Linked DNA regions of Homo sapiens: all the other regions are linked to region 1. Evidence: promoter capture Hi-C in 16 types of primary human blood cells and fetal thymus (Javierre and others, 2016). All regions are on one chromosome and are shown on one strand. Each heading gives the region's core, a stretch centred on a gene start or on the middle of the fragment in contact. The rest is flanking DNA. Distances are from core to core; before and after follow the strand shown. Region 1 holds the start of H1-2 (H1.2 linker histone, cluster member). Region 2 has its middle 15 kb from the start of TRQ-CTG6-1. Region 3 has its middle 3.4 kb from the start of TRV-AAC1-5. Region 4 holds the start of TRD-GTC2-6 (tRNA-Asp (anticodon GTC) 2-6). Region 5 has its middle 3.5 kb from the start of C6orf62. Region 6 has its middle 3.2 kb from the start of LINC02828. Region 7 holds the start of TRT-AGT6-1 (tRNA-Thr (anticodon AGT) 6-1).

The links. The method cuts DNA at HindIII sites, captures the fragments that hold promoters and counts their contacts. A CHiCAGO score of 5 or more calls a contact.
Region 2: a contact is called between a fragment that was not itself captured here and the fragment with the promoter of H1-2 in region 1, in 1 of 17 cell types (M2 macrophages). The highest score is 7.0, in M2 macrophages.
Region 3: a fragment that was not itself captured here is called in contact with the fragment with the promoter of H1-2 in region 1 in 1 of 17 cell types (monocytes); the score reaches 7.2 in monocytes.
Region 4: a contact is called between a fragment that was not itself captured here and the fragment with the promoter of H1-2 in region 1, in 1 of 17 cell types (naive CD8 T cells). The highest score is 6.1, in naive CD8 T cells.
Region 5: a contact is called between a fragment that was not itself captured here and the fragment with the promoter of H1-2 in region 1, in 1 of 17 cell types (M0 macrophages). The highest score is 6.0, in M0 macrophages.
Region 6: a fragment that was not itself captured here is called in contact with the fragment with the promoter of H1-2 in region 1 in 1 of 17 cell types (M1 macrophages); the score reaches 5.1 in M1 macrophages.
Region 7: a contact is called between a fragment that was not itself captured here and the fragment with the promoter of H1-2 in region 1, in 1 of 17 cell types (total B cells). The highest score is 5.2, in total B cells.

Annotation. Positions count from the first base shown.
Region 1 is chr6:26,055,114-26,057,977 of GRCh38, reverse strand. It overlaps H1-2 (H1.2 linker histone, cluster member), which reads left to right and starts at 1,508. Exons shown (of 1, transcript NM_005319.4): 1 at 1,508-2,238. The coding sequence starts at 1,550. The coding sequence ends at 2,191. RefSeq lists enhancers at 1,456-1,855, 1,946-1,995, 2,406-2,864 and a silencer at 2,486-2,555. The HindIII fragment of the contact is 9,556 bases long and covers 1-2,864 here.
Region 2 is chr6:27,774,897-27,777,760 of GRCh38, reverse strand. No RefSeq gene overlaps it. Among named protein-coding and RNA genes, the nearest start is that of TRQ-CTG6-1, 15 kb to the left of the region's middle. The HindIII fragment of the contact is 595 bases long and covers 1,057-1,651 here.
Region 3 is chr6:27,755,461-27,758,324 of GRCh38, reverse strand. No RefSeq gene overlaps it. Among named protein-coding and RNA genes, the nearest start is that of TRV-AAC1-5, 3.4 kb to the right of the region's middle. The HindIII fragment of the contact is 200 bases long and covers 1,355-1,554 here.
Region 4 is chr6:27,479,627-27,482,490 of GRCh38, reverse strand. TRD-GTC2-6 (tRNA-Asp (anticodon GTC) 2-6) reads right to left here and starts at 2,817; the gene lies at 2,746-2,817. RefSeq lists a silencer at 2,705-2,764. The HindIII fragment of the contact is 3,440 bases long and covers 1-2,864 here.
Region 5 is chr6:24,721,178-24,724,041 of GRCh38, reverse strand. No RefSeq gene overlaps it. Among named protein-coding and RNA genes, the nearest start is that of C6orf62, 3.5 kb to the right of the region's middle. RefSeq lists enhancers at 2,045-2,134, 2,185-2,234, 1,826-2,619, 2,365-2,864. The HindIII fragment of the contact is 1,539 bases long and covers 845-2,383 here.
Region 6 is chr6:24,737,721-24,740,584 of GRCh38, reverse strand. No RefSeq gene overlaps it. Among named protein-coding and RNA genes, the nearest start is that of LINC02828, 3.2 kb to the left of the region's middle. The HindIII fragment of the contact is 163 bases long and covers 1,273-1,435 here.
Region 7 is chr6:27,160,756-27,163,619 of GRCh38, reverse strand. TRT-AGT6-1 (tRNA-Thr (anticodon AGT) 6-1) reads right to left here and starts at 1,349; the gene lies at 1,276-1,349. The HindIII fragment of the contact is 2,646 bases long and covers 29-2,674 here.

The sequences.
Region 1 (2,864 bases), core at 259-2,758:
CACTTTTCATTTGTCATTGAACTCTTATTTGTAGGTTCCCTTTTGACTTTCCCACAATCTAAGGCTGTTCTCTTTAACACATATTTTCATGAAAACATATATTTGAGCAGAAATTGTTGGGGAGTTGTAATATTACCTTTGTCCCTAAATATGAATCTATAATTATATCAAATATATGGGCAGACAATTTACTTTGCCTTTAATCTCAAGAAAAAAATAGCAATTACTTGGGGTCGGAGAGTAAAATAAGAAGTAGTGAACCTTAAAGTAGCAAACTTTAGAACAGAATAGTTTCAGAGGGGATGAGAAGAGGTGATTTTTCAGCTCATCAACAACAGATCTTATAATAAATTACATGTTCTGGTACTTTTCTTGTCTTTCTGTGTTAAATTTTGCTATTTAAAAAAATAAATTTCAAATACATTGTTCATCTTAAAAGTCAAGAGTGTGTTTTATTAAAGTCAGTTGCTTTATTTGCAACTCAAAAGATATATTTGAGTTCCCAACTGGAGATTGTCCTATATGGTAACTTGCGTAAGGTATGGTTACTGAAAGTAACCTACAATTTTCATGGGCTGAAATTCATTTCTATATTGCAGCGTACAAAAATAAATAAATAAAAAATGCTTGTTTTCTTTGAAAACATATTATCTCAGTGCCTCTAACTGCCAAATCTATTGGCTTTTTTGCAGGCTTAAGGGCTCTCCCTTGTTCCTTTATGATCTCTATCTTGAGGGCCAGACCTCCTGCCTTACACAACTCAGAGGGGGACCTCAGAGCTCTTTAAAAAGAGCCCAATTTCTCGCCTGTAGAGAAGTGAAAAGGATGCCCCACCCCCATCTATGAAAAGAGGGATTTGATAGTTTCAATGTCTTCAAATCAAAGATTTAAGTCTGTAGCCCCCCACCACCCCGGACCCTAGCAAGGCTCATGAACCCCCTCCCATCCCGCCCTAATTGCTTTGGACTGGCCGTGGAATCCTTGTCCCAGTCCACAGTTCCTGTGCGACTGCACGAAGAATTCACAGAGGACCTGTGTTACTTCCCTTGTGAAGAAACAGAATTATCATGAAAATTTAGGTGGAAACCATTTCGCTTTTTTCTTCAAAAATAAGGGAAGCATGTGCCCAACCACCCCTGGGAAAAAGAACCTTCAGGGGCAAAGGAGCGAACAGGTAATTTATAAGAAAAACAGAAAGTGGTCTCTGACTGCCCCAGACTTCCTTCGGAGTTGGGGGAATTGGGGACGCCTGGACGCGTTGTTTTTGTGTTTGTGGAAAAAATAAATGAAGAGCATGAAGCCCGAGGCTTCTGAGATCCTTTCCTGACCAAACCCAAGTGATTTGGTGCGGGGAATTTTAATATTTTTCCCCTTTTGTGAGGTGGAACAAACACAACTTGGGAGCAGCGCAGCGGCTCAGAGCCTGCCAGCCAGGCGGGCGACCAGAGCACCAATCAGAGCGCGCCTGCGCTCTATATATACAGCGGCCCTGCCCAGGCGCTGCTTCATCGGCGCTTTGCCACTTGTACCCGAGTTTTTGATTCTCAACATGTCCGAGACTGCTCCTGCCGCTCCCGCTGCCGCGCCTCCTGCGGAGAAGGCCCCTGTAAAGAAGAAGGCGGCCAAAAAGGCTGGGGGTACGCCTCGTAAGGCGTCTGGTCCCCCGGTGTCAGAGCTCATCACCAAGGCTGTGGCCGCCTCTAAAGAGCGTAGCGGAGTTTCTCTGGCTGCTCTGAAAAAAGCGTTGGCTGCCGCCGGCTATGATGTGGAGAAAAACAACAGCCGTATCAAACTTGGTCTCAAGAGCCTGGTGAGCAAGGGCACTCTGGTGCAAACGAAAGGCACCGGTGCTTCTGGCTCCTTTAAACTCAACAAGAAGGCAGCCTCCGGGGAAGCCAAGCCCAAGGTTAAAAAGGCGGGCGGAACCAAACCTAAGAAGCCAGTTGGGGCAGCCAAGAAGCCCAAGAAGGCGGCTGGCGGCGCAACTCCGAAGAAGAGCGCTAAGAAAACACCGAAGAAAGCGAAGAAGCCGGCCGCGGCCACTGTAACCAAGAAAGTGGCTAAGAGCCCAAAGAAGGCCAAGGTTGCGAAGCCCAAGAAAGCTGCCAAAAGTGCTGCTAAGGCTGTGAAGCCCAAGGCCGCTAAGCCCAAGGTTGTCAAGCCTAAGAAGGCGGCGCCCAAGAAGAAATAGGCGAACGCCTACTTCTAAAACCCAAAAGGCTCTTTTCAGAGCCACCACTGATCTCAATAAAAGAGCTGGATAATTTCTTTACTATCTGCCTTTTCTTGTTCTGCCCTGTTACTTAAGGTTAGTCGTATGGGAGTTACTGAGGTATCAGACGAATTGGGTGACGGGGTTGGAGAGTGGCCGTGGTGAGGTTACAGCATTTAAACCTTTATTGCGGCTTCTAGGTCCCTGACCGGAGGCTTTTCTCGCTGGCGGATGGTTTTGGGATGGCAGTCCCGCCCCAGGCCTGTGAACGGCAGAAAAGACCGCAAAACAAGAGCCAGTTTCTTAGTCTAAAGGGATGTCCGGATTGGACTAAAAAATTTTCAAAAGTCCCGCCCTGCTCCCGGGTTGGTCCGTTCTTCTAGTACATGACTTTCATTCTGTATTTAATTGGATGGTGGAAGACGTTGCTTATTCTGTGTTTTTTGCTTTACTGTGACTTAAAAGTTTTGCCTCTTTTCTCTTTATATTAATGTCTGGGATTTCGGACGCTTTCCATGTTGTTGGTAGTCAAGTTGATGTCTCCTGGAGGTAGTGGCAACATCCAGCCCTGGGAGGAGAGTGCGTGCAGGTACCTTTGTCCTACATTCCTCTGCTGTTAATTTCTCATTCCTGTGGCAACGAAGGAATGCAT
Region 2 (2,864 bases), core at 105-2,604, 1.7 Mb before region 1:
GGTTTTTCTTTTTTCCTCTTGGCCTCTTAAGATCAGCTCACTCTAGAACCAGTTGATTCCAACAATCCCCTTCAAGTTGCGAGTTGCCCTTTCCAAATCTACCAAACATGCTTCAAAACCTGACATTTCTTTCTTTAAGAGCTGCTTTGGGCTCAGGAGCAGAAACAGGAGAAAAGTCAAGCAAAGCCCTCAGAAGCCCTTAGAGAGAATCGAGGAAGGCATTAAGTCAGACTACTCTCCTTAGAGAGAAAGTATATTAGCCAGTTCGCTTGTTTCCTGTCCCCAATAAAATTTCTTTCCCAACACTAGAAGTATTTTTGCGTATTGACCTAGAAGTATTTTTGCATATTGACCTAACGCCTTTTGCAGCTTTCCGGGCGCCTGGTGTACCCACGCAGCCCCACCTTATCCCCACCCCTATCCCTGCCGTTGAATTCATAAAAAGGGGCTTCCTACCCTAACCCTTTGGTGTTATGTCTGCGGACAGCTTTCACTTTCAGCGAATGTGGGCTTTCCCAGCCAAGGGCCCAAACAGAGACCTTTGATACTCCTTCATCCTGTGCTATGTCAAGAAAGTCCCTTCTGAAACTTTTATTTTGCTCTTTTCACCAACTTGCTTTTCCCGTTTTCTCAGAGTTTCTCTGTCTTCAGGAAAGCCTTGTGTTTCCAGTTCCAGGTCAGGCATAGGATTGGTGGCCATTACTCTCCACCAATTTCATTTACGTTTTCTTTCTTTTTTTTTTTTTTTCCTTTTCTAAAAAGACAGGGTGAGACACTGAGGCAGATATACTGGGGTTAGGAAGATATCCCAGAATAAGAGCATGAGAAAGCAGGCTGGAATGGTTCATGTGGACAAGATGAGTCCTAAGCAAAACTGAACCAGGTCCCACCAGGACCTGACGTGGGGCCACTAGATTTGGAGCCATGGGTATTAACTATCACAGCAGGGAGCCCCAACCCCTGGGCCACTGACCCGGTACTGGTCAGTGGTAGTGGCAGCCTGTTAGAAACCGGACCACACAGCAGAAGGTGAGCAGCAGGAGAGCCAGTGAAGCTTCATCTGTATTTATAGCTGCTCCCCATCACTCTCATTACCGCCTGAACTCCACCTCCTGTCAGATCATCTGAGGCATTAGATTCTTATAGGAGTTCTAACCCAATTGTAAACTGCCCATTTGAGGGATCTATGTTGCCCACTCTTTATGAGAATCTAATGCCTGATGATCTGTCACTGTTTCCCATAACCTCCTGATGGGACCATCTAGTTGTAGGAAAACAAGCTCAGGGCTCCGTCTGATTCTACATTATGGTGAGTTGTATAATTATTATATATCACAATGTAATAATAGAAATAAAGTGCACAATAAATGTAATGCATTTGAATCATCCTGAAACCATTCCCCTCTCCCCCAACCCCTGTCCATGGAAAAACTGTCTTCCATGAAACCAGTCCCTGGTGCCAAAAAGGTCTGGGACCGAGGCATCACAGCACTGAATTGCTGCTTACACTACAGGTGTTGCCAGAGGGCTCAGAAGGGTTTCCAGAAGCCAGTGAGACCCCAGCCCCAGCCCCAGCCAGTTTCCAGGTTCTTGACACCTTCGTAAGAAAGAATTCAGGGAGGAGTCAGAATGAAGCCAAAGGCAAGAAGCTTTTATTGCTAAGCAAAAGTACACACTTAGGGAAGTGTGGGTGAGCTCATGAGAATGAGTCGTGCCCAACAGAGTTTGAGTTTTCTATTTTTATGGGCTCTTGTAATTAGAGGGTGGACTAATCATGAGGTTTTCTGGGGGAAAGGCGAAGGTTTCATAAAATTGAGATGCCACCCATTTTTATATTAAATATGGGCGTACTCGATCTGTCAGGGCGCTGGTGGGTGTGTAATTTCGTATGGTAATTAGCATATAATTAGGTCTTGGGTAGGGCATGGGTCAAATCCAGCGCCATGTTGGACCCAGACGGTTTCAGACAGCTTAGCCACCATCCTGTTTGTTAGGGTCTTATCAGCCCAAGTTCTTTCTTGTCCTTGTAGCTAATTTTAACAGCTCCTTTTTTGCTGTTATGTGAAATTACTGCTTGATGTTTCTCCTATGACTACCCAGCATTCCTATCAAATAGAGATGAGATTTATCACCTTCCTTGTTCCCCTGGCCCTCTCACTCCACTAGCATGAACCCTTCAGTGACTCAGGTGCCTGATCTCAGCCTCTTTCAGAAAATAATCTGAGTGGAAAAACATTTTTATAGCCGCAAGCCAGGACTCCTCCCCTCCCCTCCACCAAATGCCCTATTTTCCTCTCAAAGGGGTTTAGGTCTGTGTTGCATGGGCCTTCTCTGTGGGGAAAAGCAAGAGAGATCAGATTGTTACTGTGTCTGTGTAGAAAGAAGTAGACATAGGAGACTCCATTTTGTTCTGTACTAAGACAAATTCTTCTGCCTTGAGATTCTGTTAATCTATGAACTTACTCCCAACCCCGTGCTCTCTGAAACATGTGCTGTGTCAAACTCAGGGTTAAATGGATTAAGGGCGGTGCAAGATGTGCTTTGTTAAACAGATGCTTGAAGGCAGCATGCTCGTTAAGCGTCATCACCACTCCCTAATCTCAAGTACCCAGGGACACAAACACTGCAGAAGGCCGCAGGGACCTCTGCCTAGGAAAGCCAGGTATTGTCCAAGGTTTCTCCCCATGTGATAGTCTGAAATATGGCCTCTTGGGAAGGGAAAGACCTGACCGTCCCCCAGCCCGACACCTGTAAAGGGTCTGTGCTGAGGAGGATTAGTATAAGAGGAAGGCATGCCTCTTGCAGTTGAGACAAGAGCAAGGCATCTGTCTCCTGTCCGTCCCTGGGCAATGGAATGTCTCGGT
Region 3 (2,864 bases), core at 205-2,704, 1.7 Mb before region 1:
AATGCCCAATTATGAAAAACATACAACTAATATCATTCTCAACAGCGAAAGACTGAAAATTTTTCTCCTACAATCAGGAATAATGGGTGCCCACTTTCACCATGTTATTCAGCACAGTATTGGCAAGGAAAAAGTAAAATTATCTATGTTCACAGATAACATGACTTTTTTTTGAGAGAGAGATGGGATCTCTCTTTGTCACCCAGGCTGGGATGCAGCAGAGCAATTATGCCTCACTGAAGCCTCGACTTCCCTGGTTCAAGCGATTACCCTGCCTCATCCTCCGGAGTAACTGGGACCACAGGCGCCTGCCACCATGCCCGGCTAATAAAAAAAATTTTAGAGACTAGGGTCTCGCTATGTTGCCCGTGTTGCCCAGGCTGGTCTCGAACTCCTGGGCTCAGGCGATCCTCCTACCTTGGCCTCCCAAAGTGCTGGGATTACAGGTGTGAGCCACCAAGCCTGGCCGTGACATGATTTTTATATATAGAAAACCCTGAAAATTACACACACACACTCAAACACACACACACACAAACTGTTACAGCAAATAAAGAAATTTAGCAAAATAAGGATAAACAACCACATGAGTTCCAGCAGAGAGCGCGGTGGGAAGCGGAGCGCGGCCAGCTGCTCTGGGGCCCTGCAGACCCTCTGGTCTTGGACCTGAGGAGGAGACGGGGGCCCGGCCCCGCGGCGGCCTCTGCTCTGCAGGCTCCCAGAGTCCTTGCTGTGTCTCCCACCGGCCAGGCCCAGGCCTGAGGCAGCGTCGAACCTCTCTTCACTTCCCACCTCGGTGACCTGGTGGCCCTCTGGTCTTCCAGAAAACCCTGCCGGGCCTAGACTAAGCCCCCGCTGGCCGCCAGGACGCAGCGCCTTTGTGTGGCGGCGGGTGTCGGGGGCGGGAAGAATCGCGCGGAAGCTGCCGGGGTGTGCAGGGACCGGGAAGGCGGAGCTAGGGATGCAGGTTCGGTCGCCTCTTTAGGCCACTGCGCCACGCAGATTGGGTCCAGAAGGTGCCGTTAAGTTTCTTCCCAGAAACTGTCAAGGTGCTGGTATGTTTCTTGCCCTTGCACTTTTAGTGTACTAAAATCAACGGCCAAACTCTACTCTTTATAGCAATCAAAGTATTCACCCATGCGCCCAATTTCTTTGCAAATGCCAAGCAAGAAAACCTCAGGTAGATGGAGGGAGCAGATAATTTGACTTTTTTTTTCTTTAATTTCACTATAGTGTCCTCCTCCACACATACAAGGATGAAGTTTTGTTTTTTAAGATGAAACAAATTTGTCATTAATGAAAGGATTGTCAAAATCTTCCCAAAGGTCCTCAGCTTCTGAATCACCTGGAAGCTTCTAAAAATTAAGACTTGTGGGCCATACCAGAGACCCTCTGCACTAGAAGGGGGTATGGCAAGGAATCTTAGGAATAGTCCACCTGGAGAATCACTAGCGTAAGTTCTGGGCCTCACATTCCCTCAGAAGAGTCCCATGAACCTGTGGTCAGCAGCTTAGGGCTGGTCTTCTTTACTGATCTGAGGGACAATGGGAAGCTTAGGACTCCCTGCATGGCATCTCTCCCGCCCAGGGGAGAACAGCTCAACAAATTTCCTCATTAACTACAAAGTTAAATGGAAGCATATGCTATGAAAATGCCACAAAAAGCTGTTGCTAGATGAAAATGTCTAAATTTGCTTTAAATTATCATGGGGGCTTGGCAGAGGGAGGAGAGACTAATTGTTGAAGTAGGATCATGGAAATAAGGAGGTCCATAATATTCTCTATAATCTTTTTTTGTCATAAACAGGGGTTTATAAAACTACCTAGTATAGCATGGTGGTCAAGAACACCAGTTCTGGAGACAAACACACCTGGTGGTGTCCTTTCCTAGCTAGCATAACCTCAGCACATTGTTCAAGCCTTAACTTGCTCAAATGTAAACCCGAAATGACAGGGATAGATCTTGACTCAGGAGGCTTGACAAGGCTAAAAGTAATACTAAAAATAAAAGCAGTAACTACTTCTGTAAGTTGAGCACTGTCTGAAACACTTCAGGGAGTTTTTCTTAATTGAGTTTATGATAATTCTATGAGGTACACACTGTATCCATATCCATTTTACCAGCACAGACAGAGTCATGAAGAAGCCAAATAGCTTGCCTGAAACCCTACATATGATGAGAAAGTGGCAGAGGAAGGAATTGTACTCAGATATTTTGGCTCCAAAGATCCCTGCCAGATCTGCCCTGCCAGTTCATAAGGACTAAGAAGATGCCTCCTCTCTATACTACCATCCAAATGCTTCGCAATCTGTACGTCTGTTGCTCCACTTTTTGCTTATGGCATATTGGCTGCTCATGTTCCTCTTTCTTCTCCTTGAGAGTTAGGATTGTGTAATCTTGTCCTGCATGCCTCTGGTACTCCTAGTGACAACATAGGGTCACAATTGTCTGGCACATTGTTTGTAGCTCAATAATTTATTTTTCTTTTTAAAAAAATTTGAAATGGGGATCTCGCAATGTTGCCCAGGCTGTCTCGAACTCATGGCTCAAGTGATCATCCCGCCTAAGCCTCCCAAAGTGCTAGAATTACAGGCATGAGCCACTGTGCCCAGCCAATAATTTATTTTAATTAATATGAAATAAATGTGTTTACAACAATTTTTTTTAAATTAGAGATGGAGTCTCCCTATATTGCCCAGGCTGGAGGGCAGTGGCTTTTCACAGACACAATCATTGCACATGCAACCTCAAACTCCTGGGCTCAAGTGATCTTCCTGATTTACTTCGTCTCCAGAGTAACTAGAACTACAGGTACACCACTATGTCCAGTTTAACAATATTTTTTATCTTTTTTCTTTCTTTTT
Region 4 (2,864 bases), core at 273-2,772, 1.4 Mb before region 1:
CAGCTACTGGATCTCTACAGATCATTAGCCTTCCAGTTGCTCTTTCCTGTACTGGAACATCTTCCTGTGTAGGTACAACTTAGGAATTAGCCAGTAATATAAGGAGAATTTATAATACAAATTTGAGATCTTTCTCTGTGGTTCCCTCATCACTTGAATTTTGACCATCAAGTTCTATGCACGTTGGTAGCCCCAAACTCTGACCAGTATCTCCTTAGTCCAGCACAACTGCCTCTTTCCACATGAGGTCTATTCCACAATGGTGCAATACGGGACACACCTTCAGGAGGAAAGCACTTTCAAATGTGCAAACTCATATAATGTGCTTCCCTTCTCTCAAGGATTGTAGTTTGTCAAGCCTTGCCTGGGTTGACAGCTTATCAGTGCCTTCAAACAGTTGCTTTAAGTCGGGCTTGGTGGCTCACACCTGTAATCCCAGCATTTTGGGAGGCTGAGGCAGGTAGATCACGAGGTCAGGAGTTCAAGACCAGCCTGGCCAACGTGGTGAAACCCTGTCTCTACTCAAAATACACGCCTGCAATCCCAGCTACTCGGGAGGCTGAGCCAGGAGAATGGCTCGAACTCAGGAGGCAGAGGTTGTGGTGAGCCAAGATTGCGCCATTGCACAGCAGCTTGGGCGATAGAGCGAGACTCTGTCTCAAAAAAAAAAAAAAGCCAGAAACAAACAAACAAACAAAACAATTGCTTTATAGTTCTTATCCACGATGAATCATTTTTCTTCTAGATTAAAAAAGAAATAATAGATTAAAAGGAAGTAATAGAGACAAACGAGATTCAATGTTAGGTGAAAAGGATGAGGCATCAATCACTCTACTGTTCAATAGTGTTAACGAAAAAAAGAATCCATTGGCTGAAAGTGTTGCACAATAATATTAACTTTTAAATTTGATGGCCAAAATTTCATGACAAAAATGTTAATAATAATTATTTTTCTTTTTTTTTTTTTTGGAGACAGAGTCTTGCTCTGTCGCCCAGGCTGGAGTGCAATGCTGCAATCTTGGTTCACTGCAACCTCCGCCTCCCGGGTTCAAGTGATTCTCCTGCCTCAGCCTCCGAGTAGCTGGGATTACAGGTGCCCGCCACCACACCCAGCTAATTTTTGTATTTTTAGTAGAGATGGGGTTTCAGCAGGTTGGCCAGGCTGGTATCGAACTCCAGACCTCAGGTGATCCACCCGCCTCAGCCTCCCAAAGTGCTTGGATTAGAGGCATGAGCCACCTCGCCTGGCCAATAAGTATTTTTAAAACAAAATCAGACATATTGTTATATGCTGGAAGAGTATTCTTTCATTAAAGAAGCAATGCTGTTGGCTTTGATTATGGCTCACAAAAATATTGCTTTTAATATTCATCCATTCAGCGTTGGTCGAGGGTATATACTAGGTACACTTCTAATTCCTACCTTATTATAAAGGAGCTTAGAATGATTTGGATTTCGCCATACCTTTCCATTTTATATTGTCGTTGCTGTTTTGAAATTTAGTACCATTTGTTTTCATATTCCAACATGTAATCATTACGAAACAATGTTGTTTCAGGCATTCACTCTTTATGTAGCTTTTGTCACATGTTATGAATTTTCTTGCTCACTTATAACATTTTGAATCCCACTCCTTCATCAGTTCTAAATTCCTATTCATTAATGTAGTCGTCACTCTTGTCATATGCATTGTTCAAAATTGTATATTTGCCCTTTTACATTTTAATTCGTATATTTTCATTTATAGTTTTATTAGGCTTTTCTCCTTTTAACTTTCCATTCTGAAATTATTTTAGACTGACAGACACAGTACATGAATAATACAGATAATTCCTGAGCACCCTTCACCCCAATTCCCTCAATATTAGCACATTAAGGATATTCCTATATTTTCTTTTCCTTCTCTCTCTCATATATATACATAAATGTATATTTCTGAACTATTTGACAGTGAGTTTGAAGACACATACCTCCCCTTACCCTTAAATACGTATTTTGTAAATAGGTGTGAATTTTCTTAAAGACATTTTGTTCTATAACCATAGAACAATTAATACAATCAGGAATTCACATTCATAATATTATAAAATCTATAGACTTTATTGAGATTTCACCAACTATTTCAATAATGTCCTTTAAGATAAAAATTCCAGACCATATGTTGCTGTCATATCTTTAAGATCTTCTATAATGTGGACTATTTAGTCAGCCTTTCTTTGTGTTCTGTAACTTTGTTATTTTATTTATTTGTTTATTTATTTATTTATTTATTTATTTATTTTTCCTCCCTGCTTGCCTGTTACTAGGTTGATGCAAAAGTAATTGCAGTTTTTGAGGCGTACAAGTCAGTTATTTTGTTAAAATCTCCCTCAATATGGGTTTGTCTGATGTTTTCTGATTTAGATTACATATTTTTGCCAAGAATACCACAAAAGTGACGTTGTGCTCTCATGAGCACATCCTGTAAAAAAGGTATATAATGTAGATTCGTCCCAATACTGATTCAATCACTTGGGTAAGATGGTATCTACCCGGTTTCTCCACTGTGATGGAGATTACAGTGCAGAGTGGAAATTTTCTTGCTATTACAGAACCTCATGATTTCTACAGCTTATGGTTTTTGCGATCAGTATTTCGTTGGTTTGAAAGAACTCTGCTAAAGAAAAAGAGAACCCAACATTTGCCCAGAAGACTAGAGACTGTGTTTACCGGAAGTGTGCTTTTCTAAAAAAAAGTTTAAGCCTCCTCCCCGTCGGGGAATCGAACCCCGGTCTCCCGCGTGACAGGCGGGGATACTCACCACTATACTAACGAGGAATTGACGTGAAAATGGAGCTCTTAGGAAATCCCTGTGAAGTTACTCG
Region 5 (2,864 bases), core at 365-2,864, 1.3 Mb after region 1:
TGGACTTTATTAAAATTAAAGACTTCCGTGCTGCGAAGGATATCACCAAGAAAGTGAAAGGACAGCCCACAGAATAGGGGAGCGTATTTGTAAAGTATATATTTGACAGGGAACTTGTATCTAGAATAAAAAACTTCTACACCTTAATAATTAAAAAAACAATTTTTTAAATTAAAAATGGGTAAAAGGCCGAGCTTGGTGGCTCACACCTGTAATCCCAACACTTTGGGAGGCCGAGGTGGGTGGATCACTTGAGGTCAGGAGTCTGAGACGAGCCTGGCCAACATGGTGAAACTCCGTCTCTACTAAAAATACAAAAATCATCCGGGCATGGTGGTGGGGGCCTGTGGGCCCAGCTACTCGGGGCTGAGGCAGAAGAACTGCTTGAACCCAGGAAGCGGAGGTTGCAGTGAGCTGAGATAATGCCACTGCACTTCAGCCTGGGCAACATAGCGAGACTCTGTCTCAAAAAATAAATAAATAAACAAGTAGATAAATAAAAATGGGCAAAAGTTCTGAATAGACATTTCTCCAAAGAAGATATTAGAACAGCCAATAAGCACATGAAAAGATGCTCAACATCATTAATCGTTGGGGAAAGGAAAATCAAAACCACCATGACATACATCATACCCACTAGGATGGTTATACTAAAAAAGACATAATAACAAGAATGTGGAGAAATTGGAATACACTGCTGGAGGAAATGTAAAATGATGCAACAGACTTGGAAAACATCTGGCAGTTTCTCACATGGTTAAAGATAGAGTTAACATATATCCCAGTAATTCCACTCTTAAGTATATGCCCAAGAGAATTAAAAACATACGTCTATACAAAAGCTTTTAAGTAAATGTTCATAGCAGCATTATTTATAACAGCCAAAAGGCAGAGACAACTCAAATGTCCATCAACTGATGAATGAATATAGAATTTCATACAATACATATTATTCCACAATAAAAAGGAATTAAGTACTGATACATGCTACAACATGGATGAACCTTGAAAACATTATGCTAAGTGAAGAAGCCAGTCACAAAAGACCACATATTAAATGATTTCATTTATATGAAATTTCAGAAACGGCAAATCTATAGACAGAACATAAACTAGAAAGAAGAGAAGTGACTGCTAATAGGTACAGGGTTTCTTTTTGGGGTAATGTAATGGCTGCACAACACTGAATATATTAAAAACCATTGGATTGTACACTTCAAGTAGATAAATACGGTATGTGAATTATATTTCAATAAAGCTGTTATTTTAAAAATTCTTCCATGAAGTTGATCATGGATACAAGTCAAGGCCAGGTCAAGAACATATAAGCCGGCTGGGAATGGTGGCTCATGCCTGTAATCCCAACACTTTGGGAGGTTGAGGCAGGCGGATCACCTGAAGATCATACTGGCTTGTATGTCTCATATGTTTGTTTGTTTTTTTTTTTTTTTCCGACGGAGTCTCACTCTGTTGCCCAGGCTGGAGTGCAATGGTGCGATCTCGGCTCACTGCAATCTCCGCCTCCCGGGTTCAAGCGATTCTCCTGCCTCAGCCTCTCGAGTAGCTGGGACTGCAGGCGCCTGCCACCAAGCCAGGCTGATTTTAGTATTTTCAGTAGAGACGAGGTTTCACCATGTTGGCCAGGCTGGTCTCGAACTCCTGACCTTAGGTGATCCGCCTGCCTCGGTCTCCCAAAGTGCTGGCATTACAGGCGTGAGCCACCATGCTCGGCTTACTTTTAAAAATCTTTCTTTTTTAAACCAATGCTCTAAACTACGTGACATTTTCTGTTTTATCTCTGTGAGCTTTCCATAGTTACATGATTTTGAAAACAAATCAGCAAAGCACTAGCAAAATGCAAGCTGTATCTTCCGAGATTAGAAGTTATTTGGAAATCTCAGGACTCATCCTTTGGTTCTGGACAATTTATATTGAAGGGTGGGTACCAGTTATTCTTTTGGCTCATGGCTGAAATAATGTTATTACAGCTGATCTGTTTTGACTTCACGAAGTGAAAAGTAGTAATTGGGGTCCCAATGGACTTCTAAAATCTCAGAGTAGCCAATGAGTATATAAGCATTGCTTATGTGGAGTATTGACCTTTGCTAAGTACTTACATAACTGTGTTTTAAAGAGCACATTAGAGCTTTGAAAAATGGACTCAACGCTTTTTGGTGCCAAGGACGTGCGACTCGGCGGCAAACGTTTCGATGAAGACAGTGAACCACCTAAGGGGCAGGCTGTAGGTCTGAGGTCTTGGGGGATTCTAACAGAAAGTGTGTTCTGACAGCAGTGGGTAAAAATCCACGAGTCAGACTGGGCTGCTCCTCTCCTAAGCCACAGCAGCAACGTCTGAACAACGTCTTTGACCTTGTTCGAAGCTTGAGGACCGCCCTCCCTGCCTGCGCACGTGGCGGGGTGGGGACAGAGGCAAGTAGCACTAACATGAGACATCTGCTCCCGCACGCCGTTTAAATTCCAGGTGTCGAATTGAGTTCTAGGTTTGTTGCCGCAGGATACCGCGGGGCCGACCCCCAGGACTAACTAATTATAAGAATCGAAATAAGAATCTTCCAATCTCCAACACACACTTTCCTTTTCCTTCTTTGCTCCGCCCCTACCCTCGCCCACTCTCCGCCGACTTCCGCAGTTTTGGCCCGCCCAGGTCGCTAGTTCGGCTCTGTCACGCGCCCAGCCTGACTCTGAGAGGCTGACGAGACTCGGGAAGTGCGACTCCATCCGGGTGTTTTGTTGAGGATGGTTGAGGGCGTGCTTTTATGACGACATCGGGGCGGGGCGAAGAGCCAACTCAGGAGACTGGGACTTCCTGAAGAAGGGGGGCGGAAGGAGTGGCGGGGAGCCCC
Region 6 (2,864 bases), core at 105-2,604, 1.3 Mb after region 1:
GGCACATTCTGAAGCATACTAGGGATTAGGATTTCAATATATGAATTTTGGGGAGGCACAATTCAGTCCGTAACAGTTACTCGCACCAAAACTTGGGTGTCCTCTTCACTTACCTCTATCATTTTCTATCCAGATATTTTACTTTCTAGATTTTTTCTATTAAGTGTTTAAATTCATCCTTTTATCACCATTGCCAGTGCCATTTTCAGGCCTTAATCAACTCTAAATTTCCATGCCTGGTCTTTTATAAGGCCCTCTGTAATCTGACCCATCTTGTCTTTTCTTTTAGTATGTTTATCATGTACATTGTAGAAAATATAACACTAAATTTTTGTGTCTGGCTACTTTCACTCAATAAAAAAGCAACAGTCCTCTTCCCTACCCAGACCCATTTCCCAGATGCAGCCTTCATATAGTTGAAAATTCAAAAGGTACCAAAGTCTACACTGTGAAAAATCTCCCTCCCACAGGCAACCAACGTTATTAGTTTATTGTATATCCTGATCTTATAGCTAGTTTGTACCCATGGGTACGTCTACTCATTTTCCCACAAATGGCAGTGTATTAGCCTGTTCTCATACTGTTATGATGAAATATTCACAATTGGGTAATTTATAAAGAAAAAGAGGTTTAATGGACACACAGTTCCATATGGCTGGGGAGGCCTCACAATCATGGCAGAAGGTGAAGGAGGAGCAAAGGTACATCTTAAATGGTGGCAGGCAAGGGCAGGTATGCAGGGGAACTGCCCTTTATAAAACCATCAGATCTTGTGAGATTTATTCACTATCATGAGAACAACATGGAAAAAACCCACCCCCATGATTCAATTACTGCCCACCGGGTCCCTCCCATGACACAAGGGGATTATGGGAGCTACAATTTGAGATGAGATTTGGGTGGGGACACAGCCAAACCATATAAGGCATCATACTGTAGACACTGCTTTACCTATACAAATTGCAATTTTCATTTAATATAACAAAAATAGCAAGCAGTTCTCAAGCACTTTCTATTTTTCTATTAGTATTCTGAATGCTTTGCATGTTTTAACTCATTTAATCCTTGAGATAACCTCCTGGAGTAAGAGCTATTATAATCCCCATTTTACAAATGAGAAAACTGAGACACAAAGCCTAGGATTGGCAGAACTAGATTTGAACCCAGCAGGCAAGCCCTCAGAGCTCAGTACTTAACCATGATAGCATGTTACTATGTCTTAGGGATTGTTCTATATCTGGACATAAAGAATGTTTGCATCCTTTTTAAGCTTTTCTTTTATTGGAGTTGAAACATATGCTCAGGAAGGTGCACAAACCATATGTACAGATGAAGGAATCATTAGAGAGTGAAGATACCTGTATAATCACCACCTAGCTCAAGAAACCAGAACCCCAGAAGCACCCTCTCCTCTCATGTGCTCCTAATTAAAGCTTACAGCGATTATAAAATATAGTCCCCAAATACTACTTTGACACCATTCCTCACATCGAGAAATAATGTCTCTATCTCCTGCCCTTGAATCAAGATTGACAGCTTAACCCATAGAGTACTGCAGAAGTGATACTGTGCCAGTTTTCAGGCCAGGCCTTAAGAAACTGGCAGCTTTCTCTTCCTGTTTCTTGGGATGTTTGCTCTTGGAATCCAGCCACCATGATAAAGAAAAACCATGCAGCTACATGAGAGGACAAGTGTAGGTATTCTGGCCAACAGTCCCTGAGGTCCCAGCAAACAGTCGGCATTAACTGCCAGACATGTAAGTGGGTAAGACTCCCAGTGATTTCACCTCCAAGTCTCAAGTCCCCAACAACACCCGCCCTCACTGCCCCCAGCCTTTGAACTGTCCAAGCTTATGCTGTTGAGGCAGAGATGAGCTGTCCCCTCCAAGCCCTGCCGAAATTGCAGACTTGTTGGCAAAGCACATTGTGGTGGTTGTTCGAAGTTGCTAAGTTCAGAGTGGTTTTTTACTTACCAGTAGATAACTAGGGCACTATTTTCTTTTTCCTCCCAAGGGTAATCACTATCTTGACTTCTGCTACTATAGATTAGATTTGTTTTTCTTCAACCTATATAAATATAGTCTTATATGGTTATATAGTTTGTATTATACAAACTTATATAGTTAGCATTATTTTGTGTCTGGCTACTTTCGCTCAATGTAATGTTTGTGGGATTCATCCATGTTGTTGCATGTAGCTATCATTTATTATTGTAAAACATTTCTTTGTATGCCTATATTATATCACAATTTATTTATCCATTCTACTGTTGATGGACATTTAGGTTAGGTTATGTTTTATTTGGAGCTACTATGAATAATGATGCTTTAAATATTCTTTTTTTTTTTTTTTTTTTTGAGATGGAGTTTCGCTCTTGTTGCCCAGGCTAGAGTGCAATGGCACAATCTCGGCTCACCGCAACCTCCGTCTCCTGGATTCAAGCGATTCTCCTGCCTCAGCCTTCCGAGTAGCTGGGATTACAGGCATGGGCCACCACACCCAGCTAATTTTGTATTTTTAGTAGAGGTAGAGTTTCTCCATGTTGGTCAGGCTGGTCTCGAACTCCCGACCTCAGGTGATTCACCCGCCTTGGCCTCCGAAAGTGCTAGGATGACAGGCATGAGCCACCGCGCCCGGCCTCTTTTTTTTTTTTTTTTAATATATAAAAATGCTTTATTTTACTCTTTCCATCCTGAATAAAAGTTTAGCCAGTTATAGAATTGTGCTTGACATTTGTTAACCTTAGTACTTTGAAGAAATACACACTTCGTCATTCATTGCCTTTTTTCTTCAAACATTTTTCTATTCTCTGGTGGCACTGATTTCTTTCTTCTAATTTGTTAATTTTTAATGTTTATGTATACA
Region 7 (2,864 bases), core at 102-2,601, 1.1 Mb before region 1:
CGTGAGCCACCGCACCGGACCTGAAGCTTCCTTTCAATGTGTAGGTTGAGTTTGGAGTAACTGACAGGTGTCAGGTAGTGAGAGTTTGGTATGTGATTTGTGTGTTCCACTTAATATTTCAGACACAGGTTGTTTAGGGCCACTTAACTGAAATGTACCTGAGAACATATTTGTTCCTCTCTGAGCTTTTAGTAAGCGTAGAGCAAGAATAACACTATGACATGTAATATATAAATCTTAAGATATTTTCAGCCTTCTTTGAATTTAGTTTGCAAGAAGGAGAGAATACTGTAGTATTCAAGTTTGTATTTTTATACTTAAACTTTGAAGACATAGCTTAATCAATTGTTTACAAATTTTTCAATAGCAGCATTCCAATTTTCAGGATCCTTTAAATATCAGTTTTCTTAGAAGTGAAGCTGAGGCTTGTGACAATCTCTTTTGCTCACATTCCTTTGAAAGTAGGTGGGAGAGAACTGCTATGAATAAAATGAGAAAGCAGAATTCAGATTTACTCTGAAGTATAAATGATTTCAGGCACAGTGCAGGACTACTTTTACAGCAGTGAAAAGACTATGACTCTGGTAGAACTCTGATAATAACATTTGAAATCTCTTTAGATAAAACTGAGAAGCCTAATGAGTAGGCCAGTGCTGTAGAGGGTACACTTTAGTTTATGAACTGCAATGCCACTTAAGATTCAGGAAAGTCTTCATTCATTTGTGATTTATTTCCTCGAGATATCATTGAGTCCCTAGATCCTAGATGCACAAATAAGACAATTCTTAGGGTCATACAAAACAGAAATGGTGAGAATATAAATTGCACTGTTGCTCTCTTGTTTTCAAAAATCAAAGTGAATCAGACTCCAAACAAAATGCCATGACTTATTAATTATTTGCCTGACACTGATAATCAAAATCTATCATGTAGCTGAAAATGATGGCTATCAAGGTTAAGAGGCTGGAGACTGAACGTCTACAACAGAATTTGAAATGTTACTCTCTACTATGTATTACAAGATTTTTTTTTTGTACAACTTGTATATCCCCAGTCTTACCTGTCATCAGCAAACCCATTGCTTTTTACCAACAGAAACTTTATTAATTTTTCCCTTCATCCCAACCCTTTCATATTGTGATGCAGTTACCTGCAAGGGACTCTCCATAATTGTGCTAATCGCTCAATACGGATTTCACAACCTATAAATTCCTTAATGCATTTTCAACATATGTATTTGCAACATACTATTGAAAATATAAAATTGAACACGTAAGGCCCCGCTGGGATTCGAACCCAGGATCTCCTGTTTACTAGACAGGCGCTTTGACCAGCTAAGCCACAGGGCCCCTGTTGGGCATATGTTCAGATATATCGTATTTATAACATTTTTGTAAAATGTATCAATTTGACAAAAGTGTACTTAATTTTGTGACAAAGAAAGCACATCTGTGTTTCTGAACCAGCAACAAAGCAGCAATTCCAACACTAAAAAAAATACTTTTCTTCAATGCAAGATTTCAGAATTTATTTCAAATTGAAATGAGTGAAATTTCTATTTCATGGTGACTATCTCCCCCTACAGGAAATATTGGATATCGCAACATATTTTAAATTTATTTCTCTGTTCGTGCATTCATTCTGTCCACAAATGTTGAGTCATTACTGCATTTCAGGTACTTTTCTAGGTATTGGAGAAAGAACATTGAATAAAACAGCAAAATTTTCTTCCATTATTGAATTTATGTTCTACAGGGAGATAAAACAACAACAAAAAACACCCCAAAACAAACTAACCAACTAAAAAAATCCAACAACAAACAAAAACACAAGTGATATGGAAACCAATCTCTTTACCGCTGGGTTATAGAACCCACGACACTACCTTCTGAGCTAATTCACTGCAATTGAGTAAAACCATTATGCTTCCTTCTATTTTATCTAATCTGGCACAAGAAAGTGAGCCTAGACGAGGACACAGTGATGTCGTGGAGATCTGTGGTCACCCTGCTTCCCACTTACCCAAACTAGGCACCTTGAGACCCTCTGTTTCAAAGACAGCTTTGGTCTCAACAGGAGATCTGCTGTTAGAAACAATGAGTTAGGTGTACACAGGGAGTTCTCCTGGATGGATATCTTTGCTTCTGTCATAGTCTTGTTCTGCTCATTTGCCTGCTGGGTTAAAATAGACTCAATTTCTAGACCCACATAGATTGTAAAACTGCGTGGATGATACAGAGAAGTAGAGAACAAAGTAGAGTACAATGTGATAGCCCTCACAGGATGCTGTGGGAACCTCTCACTTGGGCCTCACAGAGTTGCATGACCTTTTATCTCAGGTTCTTTGTCAGTTTAATGAATGCAGAAGGAGTCATGGAATGTTTAGCTGAATGCAGCTTAGCATGGGGAAAAGCAGATGAAACCAATATCCTGAAATATTTAAATAACTGCCTGGTGCTTTGCATATGCATTCATTAAGCATCCACAAAATGCAAGACCCTGGAAAGATGAGAAATTACTTAGGTTGAGGTTGAGTTTTTATTTTTTAACCAAGCCTGGTGTTGCTTCTGATTTATTTCCTGTGGGTCATGAACCTCTACTCACTACCTAGCTAATCACAAAGCCAGGTTATACCAATTTTTCAGCTTTATTGGCTGAGGTTTTTTGTGAAGCTTAGTTATGTATTCCCCGACTTCTGTTTCTCACTGACAGGTGTTTCATAAATCTTGGTATGTGTAAAACCCTGGAAGAAAAGCCCTTTGTTTCTCCTTTTGGAAATCTTTCCAAGATACAAGCAGACATTTCAACATAAAGTAGGTGCTGGAGTGGTGTGGCTACAGATAGATTGCTGCACCCTTGAGAGA